2 separate regions of the Homo sapiens genome follow, and region 1 is linked to region 2. The links are contacts of gene promoters, found by promoter capture Hi-C in human tissues and cell types (Jung and others, 2019). All regions are on one chromosome and are shown on one strand. The core of a region is centred on a gene start or on the middle of the fragment in contact, and the rest is flanking DNA. Distances in the headings are between cores, read along the strand shown. Region 1 overlaps LETMD1 (LETM1 domain containing 1). Region 2 holds the start of FAIM2 (Fas apoptotic inhibitory molecule 2).

What was found. The method cuts DNA at HindIII sites, captures the fragments that hold promoters and counts their contacts. A contact is called where the count stands out against the background at its distance.
Region 1: a contact is called between a fragment that was not itself captured here and the fragment with the promoter of FAIM2 in region 2, in 1 of the 25 tissues and cell types used here (liver).

The regions. Positions count from the first base shown.
Region 1 is chr12:51,052,463-51,058,984 of GRCh38, forward strand. It overlaps LETMD1 (LETM1 domain containing 1), which reads left to right. Exons shown (of 9, transcript NM_015416.5): 4 at 1,316-1,398; 5 at 3,373-3,559; 6 at 3,682-3,783; 7 at 3,888-4,040; 8 at 5,570-5,666. Among named protein-coding and RNA genes, the nearest start is that of LETMD1, 7.4 kb to the left of the region's middle. The HindIII fragment of the contact is 7,302 bases long and covers 1-5,346 here.
Region 2 is chr12:49,901,711-49,907,531 of GRCh38, forward strand. It overlaps FAIM2 (Fas apoptotic inhibitory molecule 2), which reads right to left and starts at 2,190. Exons shown (of 12, transcript NM_012306.4): 1 at 2,068-2,190. The coding sequence starts at 2,082. The HindIII fragment of the contact is 14,088 bases long and covers 1-5,382 here.

The sequences.
Region 1 (6,522 bases), core at 446-2,945, 1.2 Mb after region 2:
TCTAATTAGTTTCTGAACATAACAAAAGTCTGCAAGGGGGCTGGGCGCGGTGGCTCACGCCTGTAATCCCAGCACTTTGGGAAGCCGAGGCAGGCAGATCACGAAGTCAGGAATTCGAGACCAGCCTGGCCCACAAGGTCAAACCCCATCTCTACTGAAAATACAAAAATTAGCTGAGTGTGGTGGCGGGCGCCTGTAATCCCAGCTACTCGGGAGGCTGAGGCAGGAGAATCGTTTGAACCCGGGAGGCAGAGGTTGCAGTGAGCCAAAATCATGCCATTGCACTCCAGCCTGGGTGACAGGGCAAGACTCCATCTCAAAAAAAAATAATAATAAAATGAAAATAGAAGTCTGCAAGGGCAGCCAGGCACAGTGGCTCTCGCCTATAATCTCAGCATTTTGGGAGACTGAGGTGGGCGGATCACCTGAGGTCAGGAGCTTGAGACCAGCCTGGCCAACATGGTGAAACCCCATCTCTACTAAAAATTCAAAAATTAGCTGGGCATGATGGCAGGCGCCTGTAGTCCTAGTCCCAGCTACTCGGGAGGCTGAGGCAGGAGAATTGCTTGAACCTGGGAGGCGGAGGTTGCAGTGAGTGAAGATCGCGCCACTGCACTCCAGCCTGGGTGATAAGAGCAAAACTCTGTCTCAAAAAAAAAAAAGTCTGCAAGGATCCAAAGGGCAGCATGAAAGTAGTATTTGGTGGTGACTTGATGGGTCGTTTTGAAGCTGAGAGTAAGAATCTAGGACCCATTCCGCAGATCAGGAAGAGTTCACTGAAGGATTTGGTATAATGTCAGGCTCTGTACTAGACATTATTTGGGATACAAAAGTAAATAAGTCAGAGGTTTTGTCCTCAAGGAACTAACCATCCAGAAGTAAATAGAAATAAACTTGGGGACCACATGCAGTGCTCATGCCTGTAATCCTAGCACTTTGGGAAGCCAAGGCGGGCAGATCACTGGAGGTCAGGAGATTGATACCAGCTTGTCCAACATGGTGAAACCCTGTCTCGACTAAAAATACAAAAGTTAGCCTAGAGTGGCGGCTTATGCCAATAATCCCAGCTACTCGGGTGGCTGAGGCAGGAGGATCACTTGAACCCAGGAGGCAGAGGTTGCAGTGAGCTAGGATTGCACCACTGCACTCCAGCCTAGGTGACAGAGCAAGACTCCATCTCAAAAAGAAAAAGAAAGAAATTTGGTCCTTTTTCTGGGCTGTAATAGAAGTTTACTGTACAGTGGGGTGGATGGATTGTCTATTGTATTAACAACTTATTTGGGTTAAAACTGCATCTGTGTTTATTTCTGCTTAGTTCCGCCAAGACGTCACCAAGTGTCTTTTCCTAGGTATTATTTCCATTCCACCTTTTGCCAACTACCTGGTCTTCTTGCTAATGTGAGTACAGACTTCCATCTCCCCAACATCTTGAAGATGTATCAATTTTTTTAAATTAAGAATTACTTTAAACAGCACTCATTTCAGAAGATAGGCAGAGGTTATCAAACTTCTGCTCCAATCTTCTCATTATTCCAAGGTTCATAAAAACCACTTAGGAAGACCTTGGTTACTGTGACACATCACAGCTATAAGTGTAGGTGGCCTAGACTCTCCCTATCTCTTAGCTGCCCTGAGTCATGTGAAATAAGATAGTGACCTTCTCCATCATCCCTAGAGGCTCTCTCCCCGAGAGAGAGTACTTTTAGACTAATTTCTTTAGGAAAAGTACATTTCGTATTCTGATAACATTTTTATTACTTCATATCCAAAAATGACATTTCTTAACTGTGATCTTGCATGTCATTCATTATCTATTGCTGTATAACAAATAACTTCAAAGCTTAATAGCATAAAACAATCGTATAAATCATTTTCATGATTTTGTAGCTCAAGAATTAGGGCAGTGCTCAGGTGGGCAGTTGATTTCTCTCTTCCATATAGGGTTGACAGAGGTCCCTTAGTGATATTTAGCTGCTGAATGGACTAGTCTGGAAAGTCCAATATCACTCTTATGTCTGGTGCCCTGGCAGGGATGGCTACACGGCTAGAACTGTCAACCAGAGTGCCCAGATGTGGCTTCTTCAGTATGGCAGCCTCAAGATAGTGGGACTTCTAACTTGGGAGCTCAGGGCTCCAAGAGTGAGGGGTTCTAGTAAGAATCTACATGACTTTATAACCTTGTCTTGAAGGTCACATAGAGTCACTGCTGCTCTGTCCTATTGATTGAATCAGTCACCTAGAATGAAAAAAGGGCAGGATGTAGACCTCAGCTCTCCATGAGACAAGTGCCAGAGAATTTGAGGTCATGTTTTAAAACCACCAAACACGTAGATAAATAAATTAAAAAACAAATCGTGGCCAGGTGCAGTGGCTCACGCCTGTAATCCCAGCACTTTGGGAGGCCGAGGCGGGCAGATCACAAGGTCAGGAGATTGAGACCATCCTGGCTAACACAGTGAAACCCTGTCTCTACTAAAAATACAAAATACTAGCTAGGCGTGGTGGCGGGTGCCTGTAATCCCAGCTACTTGGGAGGCTGAGGCAGTAGAATCGCATGAACCCAGGAGGCAGAGGTTGCAGTGAGCCGAGATCGCGCCACTGCAGTCCAGCTTGGGTGACAGAGCGAGACTCTGTCTCAAAAAAAAAACAACAAATCAGTTGCCTTTTACATACTGGGTCCACATAAGGACTGTGCTATAGTTAGATTGTCAACATCACATATAGTGTCCTGGTCAGGCTGCAACTCTCTCCAAAGCATGCTCTTCACATGCTTTAGTTCAAAATGAGTCATTATATCTGATTGCTGCGTGGCAGGCTATTCTGCTAGTCCTTCCTTTCACATCCCATTTCAGTAATGGTGCTTGAAATTGTGCTTCAGTGTGTCTTATAAACTTTGGTCTGAGAGTCACTTAAGAGAAAGGGCTGACTGTAGTGGCTCTCACCAGTAATCCCAGCACTTGGGGAGACTGAAGCAGGAAGATTGCTTGAGACCAGGAGTTTGAGACCACCCTGGGCAATATAGCAAGACCCGTCTCTGCAAAAAAATTAAAAACTTAGCCAGGCATAGTGGCCTGTGCCTGTAGTCCCAGCTACTCAGTAGGCTGTGGTGGGAGGATTGCTTGAGCCTAGGAGGTCGAGGCTGCAGTGAGCTGTGATCTTGCCACTGTACTCCAGCCTGGGTGAGAGAGGGGACCCTGTCTCTTAAAAAAAAAAAAAAAAAAAAAAAAACTGAAAAAGAAAAAGAACACTGAGGTAGGGAAATAGTGTCTCCATCTCTTCTTCCTAGTATTCATGTCTACCAAATGCTTTCTTTGGCTTCCTCTGAAAGAAGCCAGTTTCAGCAAGTGAGTTTGTGATTCTTTCTCCTTTCAGGTACCTGTTTCCCAGGCAACTACTGATCAGGCATTTCTGGACCCCAAAACAACAAACTGATTTCTTAGATATCTATCATGCTTTCCGGAAGCAGTCCCACCCAGAAATTATTAGTTATTTAGAAAAGGTCATCCCTCTCATTTCTGATGCAGGACTCCGGTGGCGTCTGACAGATCTGTGCACCAAGGTATTCCTGCAGTTAACCCTTCCTACAAATGTGGAATCTTGTTAGATTCAGTGTGCACTAAACTAGGTAAGAGGAGTAGTCAGGACTTTCCTAACATCTACAAATCTCTTACCTCTTCCAAGATACAGCGTGGTACCCACCCAGCAATACATGATATCTTGGCTCTGAGAGAGTGTTTCTCTAACCATCCTCTGGGCATGAACCAACTCCAGGCTTTGCACGTGGTGAGCACTTTGAGGGCTTCTCTTTTCCATAGCATCACCATGTTTCAGGTGTTTGCTTGAGCTCATACTATTTGCCTTTCCCCTCCTATGTGGTTGTGTTACAGAAAGCCTTGAGCCGGGCCATGCTTCTCACATCTTACCTGCCTCCTCCCTTGTTGAGACATCGTTTGAAGACTCATACAACTGTGATTCACCAACTGGACAAGGCTTTGGCAAAGCTGGGGATTGGCCAGCTGACTGCTCAGGAAGTAAAATCGGTAAGAGCTTGATTGCAACATCAACCCTCAACCCTTGGTGTGCTTTTGAGCCTATGGCAGGCCGGAGGTTTACAGGGGCTCCTTGTCTTGTTTGTTTATAGAACCCAGCTTCTTTATTCTCTCACTTCATTTATTTATTTATGATTTATTTTTATTTATTTATTTATTTTGAGACAGAGTCTCATTCTGTTGCCCAGGCTAGAGTACAGTGGCACAGTCTTGGCTCACTGCAACCTCTGCCTCCCGGTTCAAGTGATCCTCCTACCTCAGCCTCCCAAGTAGCTGGATTACAGGTGTGCACCACCACGCCCAGCTAATTTTTTGTATTTTTAGTAGAGATGGTTTCACCATGTTTGCCAGGCTGATCTCAAACCCCTGGCCTCAAGAGATCCATCAACCCAAAGTGCCGAGACTACAGGTGTGAGCTACCGCACCCAGCATATTTATTTATTTTTCAGTCTCACTATTTTAACCAAGCTGGTCTTGAACTCCTGGCCTCAAGCAATCCTCCCATCTTGGCCTCCTAAAGTGCTGGGAATACAGCCGTGAACCACTGTGCCCGGCCTTTTTAAAAATTATTTTTTAATTAGCCAGGAGTGGTGGCACATGCCTGTAATCCCAGGTACTTGGGAGGCTGAGACATGAGAATTGCTTGAACCCAGGAGGTGGATTGCAGTGAGCCAAGATCGCACCACTGCACTCCAGCCTGGGTGATAGAGTGAGACTCTGTCTCAAAAAAAACCCAAAAAATAAAATAAAATTATTTTTTATTTTTGTAGAGACAGGGTCTCACTATGTTGCCCAGGCTGGTCTTGAACTCCTGGGCTCAAGTGATCCTCCCGCCTTGGCCTTTCAAAGTGTTGGGATTACAGGCATGAGCCACTGCGCCCAGCTCCTCACCTCATTTCTGTGTCTTTTTTCTCAAGAAACTTAGCTAGGGGGAAGGAATTGCCCACAGAAATTTTGGTTTGTATTTCTTTTCTTCTGGCACTTCAGAAAGCAAGGATACTGCAGTTTAGACCTACTATTTTAGCTTATATAGGACTCTTTGCTTTTGTCATCTTGTCCATCACTAGTTTTCAAATTGCCATGAGGAAAGGCTTCATGTGGGAATGAGATTGTAACTTTTTTTTTTTTTTTTGAGACAGAGTCTCGCTCTGTTGCCCAGGCTGGAGTGCAGTGGCATGATCTTGGCTCACTGCAACCTCCGCCTCCCAGGTTCCAGTGATTCTCCTGCCTCAGCCTCCCGAGTAGCTGGGACTGCAGGTGCATGCCACCACGCCTGGCTAATTTTTGTATTTTTTAGTAGAGATGGTGTTTCACCATATTGGCCAGGCTGGTCTCCAACTCCTGACCTCGTGATCCGCCTACCTCGGCCTCCCAAAGTGCTGGGATTACAGGCACGAGCCACCGTGCCCGGTGAGATTGTAACTTATTTAAAGGAGATTTAGGATTGTTTGTGGATTTCCATTTCCTTGGCATAATCATTCTATGATTATTAAGGACCATTTCTGTTCTGAGTGGTATAGGCTTGTTATCTCCGTGGCCTGAATTCTACGCATATTGGTGAAGATAGGTGTCGAACTTGGCTGGGAGAATGGCTGCAGATTTCCTGCAGCCTGAAAGGTAAAACACATTTCTGTGGTTATACCACTAAAATCCAAGTCACTTTTGTATTTTATTCTGAGGTCATTTTGGAGTTAATTATTGAGTACTGTGAGACATATATATACATACATCTAATTGAAAGGGCACAAACTCACATGCCTACTGCATGCCCGGCAGGTAACGAAGTAGGCCATAAGACAAGAGGGAGTAGTGGGGACTGTGGAAACCTAAGAGTGAATGCATGCTAGTGTGAATTTTCCAACCTTGGCACTTCCTTATGGGGGGAATATCCTGTGCTTTATTTATTTATTTATTTATTTATTTTGAGACGGGGTTTCGCTCTTGTTGCCCAGGCTGGAGTGCAATGGTGCGATCTCGGCTCACCGTAACCTCTGCCTCCTGGGTTCAAGTGATTCTCCTGTCTCAGCCTCCCAAGTAGCTGGGATTACAGGCATGCACCACCACGCCCAGCTAATTTCGTATTTTTTTTTAGTAGAGACCAGGTTTCTCCATGTTGGTCAGGCTGATCTCGAACTCCCGACCTCAGGTGATCCGCTGGCCTCGGCCTCCCAAAGTTTTGGGATCACTGGCGTGAGCCACCATGTCCAGCCTATCCTGTTCTTTATAGGTATTTATTATAGCAGTATCCCTAGCCTCTACCCACTAGATGCCAGTAGCACCCCTTCACCCACAGTTGTCTCAACCAAAAATGTCTCTAGACATTGCCAAATGTCCTAGGGGTGGGGAGGAGAGAGGCAGGATTGTCCCCGTTGAGAAGTACTGGTCTAAAGGCATTCAAACTCAGAAAAAAAACAGTCTGCTGACCAAACACAAAGCATCTGAGGGTATGTATTAGGCTTGTTTGCCCCCTGTT
Region 2 (5,821 bases), core at 940-3,439:
GCATTTTGACCCCTGCTTTAAAATGAGGAGAATGAGGATCACAGAGGAAGAGCGATTCATCCAAGGTCACAGAGCTGCATGTGGCCCACTGAGAGGCAGGGCCTAGGCATCATCCACTGGGATTGATCCTTCTGTTGCGCTGGAAGTGATGCAAGGAGAATGGAGATGGGAGAGAGAAGGGCAACAGAAAGGGAAGAGGAGAGGGAGAAAACAGAAAAGAAGAAGGGCCTTCAGGGTGGAGGAAGGGCAAGAGGATCCAGGCTAAGGGTCTGTTCTGGCCTCATCCTGTAGGAATCTCAGCCTCTCCCCTAAACCAGAACAGACTCACAGAGTGACCCAGTGGAAGGGGCCTCAGAAGACATCCAGTTGAGTCTCTTCCGTCACTGAACAGATGAGGAAACTGAGGCTCAAAGGGAAACGTCCCCATGGCAGGTTGGAAATGCGAGTCCATTTACACTCAGATGTGTCCCCTGCCCCCCACCCGTGGACATGTTTAGCTTTGGTGAGAGGATTTGAGCTGGGAAGGCCTGAATGAGGCAGCCAGAGAAGGAAAGACTGGGGTGGAGGGGGTGGTGTGAAATTGAAACAGCAACAAAAAGCCCGGCTCTCAGAAAATGGGATTTAGGTCTGGTTCCCAGAAGACTGTGTTAGACCTAAAGGGCCACTGAGGAAGACTGCGGACTTCCTTCTTTGCAGGGAGCATCTGGCTGAGGCAGCCTGGAGACAGGCACGCACCAGAAGACTTCTGGTTCCATCCAGGCCCAAGGACCACTGAACTGGAGCGGTCTTCTCCATCCCCCAGCAAGCCTGTGCGTGAGCTGGGGACAAGGGGCAGAGGAGGCAGAGGTCCCCCTCACACCAGGAAGGGAACAGCGCCACTAAAGGGCCTGGTGGAGGCAGGGTGGAGGTGGAAGGAGACTCAGCAGAAGGGGTGAGTTCTCCATGTTTACGGAACTGAACACTCCCCAGGCCTCCCACTGCCTCCCACTCCCCAGCCCCCCTCATCACCCGGATCTGAAGGATCATGTCCACCTAAATCGAGTTCAGCCTCCACCCTGCCACTCCGCCCCCCAGAGCCTCCTGGACCCTAATGCCCAGGCCCCCGACACACATACGGCACTCCCAAGTGAGGTGTGACCAATGGCGGGAGGTGGTATCACCCAGTGACATCATTTGAGGCCCAAAGAGCTTGCATACAGGGAGAGGAGGGTCTGAGGGTCCAGGGAAGGATGTCATTGGCTCTGAAGCTCCTCTCAAAGAGAAGAAGGGGGAGTGTAGGGGAGGTCCTTCCCCTGTTTTCTCTGCCCAATCCTTAGCAACCCAAACAGAGGGCCCGAGTACCCTCCCCCTTAGCCCCAGGCCCTAGTGGTTGTATAATTCCACAGGCTATTGATGTTACATAAGCCTACTAGGCCAGCCGAGTCTCTGCCCCAGCCCCTCCCCTACAATTCAGGCCTAAAACTGGAGAAGAGATGCTTCATCCGGACCCATCCATGCCTGGCCAAAACCAAAACAACAATTAGAGCATCTTGATGCAGAGTTGTCATAGCAAGCCCCAAGCACAGGGATGGAGCCAAGACGCCCAGATGTGGAACAATGGCAGGGAGTAGGGTGGGGGTTGTTTCCGTGGAGGGTGGGAAAGATGAGCATAAAGTGGTTGGGTTTGGGACTGGAGGGTTGGGCCAGAGGGGGTTGCCCGATAGGCACTGCCCCTCAGGGCTCACCCTGGCACACACATACCCATGCACACACATACAGTCACACCAGACGCCCGGGCTGACTCCTCACGGGGGGCCTGGGTATCTGTGAGGAGCCTTGTAATGCTGTAATGCCAAAGCAGGGGTGGCAGGGTGACAGGGGAGGAGAGGCGCGCCTGCGGGCAGGAAGAGGCCTCGGTCCATTCCTTGACACCGGCCTTTCGGTCCTCTGACTTCAGCAAGGACCACGGAGGACCTTCAAACTAGGGCCAGGGGAGGATGCTTTCGTGGTCCAGAGGGCTTGCTGAGGATGACAGGGAGCCGGGAGCCGGAGGATGGAGGATGGTGCAGGCTGGGGAGATGCCGGTACCTTTCCCTGGGTCATGGTGCCGTCTCTCGGGGAAGGGGTCCCTGAGGCCCGGGTGGCCGCTTGGGTAACCGCAGCCTGCCTGCGTCTCTTCCTTCCTCCGCGTGGGTTCTAGCAACATCCACTGCAGCCGGGCCAGGCGAGCCGGCGCGTACCATCGGCGCGGGGGGAGGAGAGGGCCGGGCCTGGGAAGATGCTGCGGAGGACGCTGCGGATTCGCGAGCCCGGGGTAAGGCGGCGGCGCACCGCCCCCTCCCGCCGCTTCCCCCCCACCCCGCCCCCCACCGCCGCCCTTAGCCCTCCCCCGGGATGAGAGAGAGTCGCGCTGCGGAGCAACCCCAGTGGATGGGTCCGCGGGGGCTGAGCGGGCGGAGGACGCGGGAACTCCGTGACACCGACCAGCTGACGCTGCCCGCGTGAAACCAGAGCCGGGCATCAGGGCCTCATCTCCACTGTCTCTGCACCTCTCTGCAGCTCCAGCTGCGCCTCTGCCTTTTCCTCCTCCCTCTTTGGATGCGGCCCTGATTTCTGTCTCCATCTCCACCTCCCCTCTCATCATCTATTTCATCATCCCTGGTAGAGGGGAAGGTCTGGAAGTCTCGCCTGTGCTGCCCGCTTCTAACAGGGCCCCTGGGCCCTGCGCTCCTGTGGGCCTGGGGCAAGCCAATAGCCACCTATCCTTGCTCCTTTTTCTCGCCTGTGAAATGCACACAGTAGGTCCCTCCCTGCCTTGGTTCACAGAGACATGGGGTGGGAGGACACCTCTTCTGTTTCTTTCAGCCCTGCTGGGACATTTCACGGGGTCTTTCTGGAGACACCGCTAGTTCTGTCTCAAAGCCTCTACAACCCCTGCCAGAGCTCTCTTCCTGCCTCCACGCTTAGCTTCCATCACCCCGTCTCCATCTTCCCCCCTTTTCCATTCCTCCCATGCCAGAGCTCGTTCTCCCCGCTTCCCCAGACGTGTCACTGGGACCCAGCCATCATCAGGCCCCGTTTTCTGTAGCTGCTGCAGTGTCACTATGGGGTTTGCAATCTCAAGAGCTGGGATCAAGTCCCAATTTAGTCACCCACTGGCCGCGTGGCCTTGGCAAGGCCCTTAACCTCTCTGAGCTGCAGCTCCTACGAAAAAGAGGCTTAGAACAGAGCTCTGTCCATCCTAGATTGACTGTCAGACGCACAGGTTATGGCCGTAAAAGCACATAAAAGACCAAGAAGTGCTGGAAGTATGTGAGGTATTATTAACTGAGGAGTCTCCTACCAGAATGTCCTGGGCTGCCCCAGAGCGAGCACCCACAAATCTGCCTAAAAGAAGTATCTGAACCTGCTAGGATGGGACGAGAAACTAAGACCTGGGACAGGTGGGGGTGGCCACTTACCTTCTGCTTCCCTCTCACTGCCCAGGGACCCACCTAAAGTCCCTGAGAAAGCAGGGCCCAGGTAGGCAGACAAATTATCAAAGTCTTTTTTTTTTTTTTTTTTTTTTTTTTTACAGAGAAAATCTTGTTCTGTTGCTCAGGCTGGAGTGCAGTGGCACAATCTTGGCTCACTGCAACCTCTGTCTTCCGGGTTCAAGTGATTCTCCTGCCTCAGCCTCCTGAGTAGCTGGGATTACAGGCGCGCACCACCACGCCCGGCTAATTTTGTATTTTTAGTAGAGACAGGGTTTCACCATGTTGGCCAGGCTGGTCTCCAACTCCTGACCTCAAGTGATCCACCCTCCTCAGCCTCCCAAAGTGCTGGGATTACAGGTGTGAGCCACCGTGCCTGGCCTAATTATCAAAGTCTTTATCCCACCCCTTTTTGCCCTTTGTCCCCCACTCCATAACCACCAATTTTGCACAAACACACTTAAGCCTGGGCCTCCGTGTCCAGAGGCTCTCTCAACCCTACAAACCCGAGCTCTTCTTCCAGCAAGCTGTGCCCTGGTCCCCAGCACTGCACCTGGAGCTCTGACCAGCTGGTCCAGGTTCTGGCCTTCCCTCCTTCTCTGCATCTGCATCCTGGAAGTGTTTTCCTTCTCCTGCTTGACAGCTTGAATGCCACCTCCTCCAGGAAGCCTCCTTCCCCCCCTAGTTGGGGTTAGATGCTCCTCTTCTGTAGTTCCCTAGCACCCTGATGTAACGCCTGTCACGTGGCGCTGTGAAGTTTCTTTGACTGACTCCCTGTTACACTCTAAGCTCCTGTAGCAGTTTTGGTGTGAGCTGGACTGAATGCAGTGCCAGGTGTGTGGAATGCACTCCATCAATTGTAGCTAGTAATATTTCCCAGACATGGCACTACGCAGAGCCTGACTTTCATCAGCCTTAGCACTTTCATGTTTGTGAATCACTCCTGTTCCTTCTCTCGCATTCACTCTGCTCCAGCCACACAGGCCTCTTGGCCATTCCTTAGACTGGGCTGAGCATGCGCTTAGCTGAGGCCCTTTGCACTGGCTGTGTCTTGTTTGGAAATTCTACAGATCATTGCGTGGCTCCCTCCCTCACTAACTTCACTACTCTGCTCAGACATTATCTCAGGGGTGGTCTTCCTGATCTTATACAAAGTAGCAGTGCCACCCGCATACCCCCACCCAGCAAATTGGACAGTCCCTTTTTTCTGATTAAGCTTTATGTTTTCTATGTCAATTGTCACCTCTGACATGTTTTGTTTTGTTTTGTTTTGTTCTCTCTCTCTCTCCCATTAGAACGTCAGCTACAGAAGAGGAGGAGTTTGGGGGTGTTGTGTCATTGCTTTACACCTGTGGGTTAAAATAGTGACTGACATGGATGTGGTGGGTTGATAAGTATTTGGTTGAGTAAAGTACAGCATTATACAAAATCCTTATATTCCTCAGACATGTTGACATTGTCAGTGCTATGATGTTTCTCAGATGTTGGACTCTATTACCTTGACATTGTGTATATGTCCCCCCAACTTTTTTTTGAGACAGGGTCTCGCTGTGTTGCCTAAGCTGGAGTGCAGTGGTATGATCATGGCTTGTTACAGTCTGAATTTCTGGGCTCAAGCATCCTCCTGCCTCAGCCTCCCAAGTAACTAGGGTATATGTTCCCATGAGGTGGTCTTTGGATATTACTCAAAAAAATTTTTGTTTTGAGGTGTAGTTTTGCTCTTGTTGCCCAGGCTGGAGTGCAGTGGCACGATCTCAGCTCACTGCAACCTCCGCCTCCCAGGTTCAAGCGATTCTCCTGCCTCAGCTTCCTGAGTAGCTGGGACTACAGGCGCACACCACCACGCCTGGCTACTTTTCCTATTTTTGGTAGAGACAGAATTTCACCACGTTGGCCAGGCTGGTCTCGAACTCCTGACCTCAGGTGATCTGCCCGCCTCAGCCGCCCAAAGTGCTGGGATTACAGGCATGAGCCACCGTGCCCAGCTGACATTACTCAAATATTAAACATTCGTGTAACATTCCTCTGGGATCTGGTGATAGTTAGGTGTGGTAGTCAAAAGCCAAGGCTACACAGTCAAGCAGCTTTGCTCCAGATCCCGGCTCCTCTATTTAAAAGCTGTATGAGAGCTTGTGAGAGATGAGTTGTGAAAGTTGTGAGAATGAGGAGAGTTAGGATTTGTAAGGCACTTAGAACAGAACCAGGCATCTAACACATGCTCTATGCATGTTTGATGACTATAAGCACACAATAAGCTCTTGGTGTTAGCTATTAGTGTTAGCCTTAAGGGTTCCACAAATATTGTTTAATGAAATAATTTCCACCACATAAGGCAGCTCAGTTCCACAGTTACTCATTTGTTCATTCAT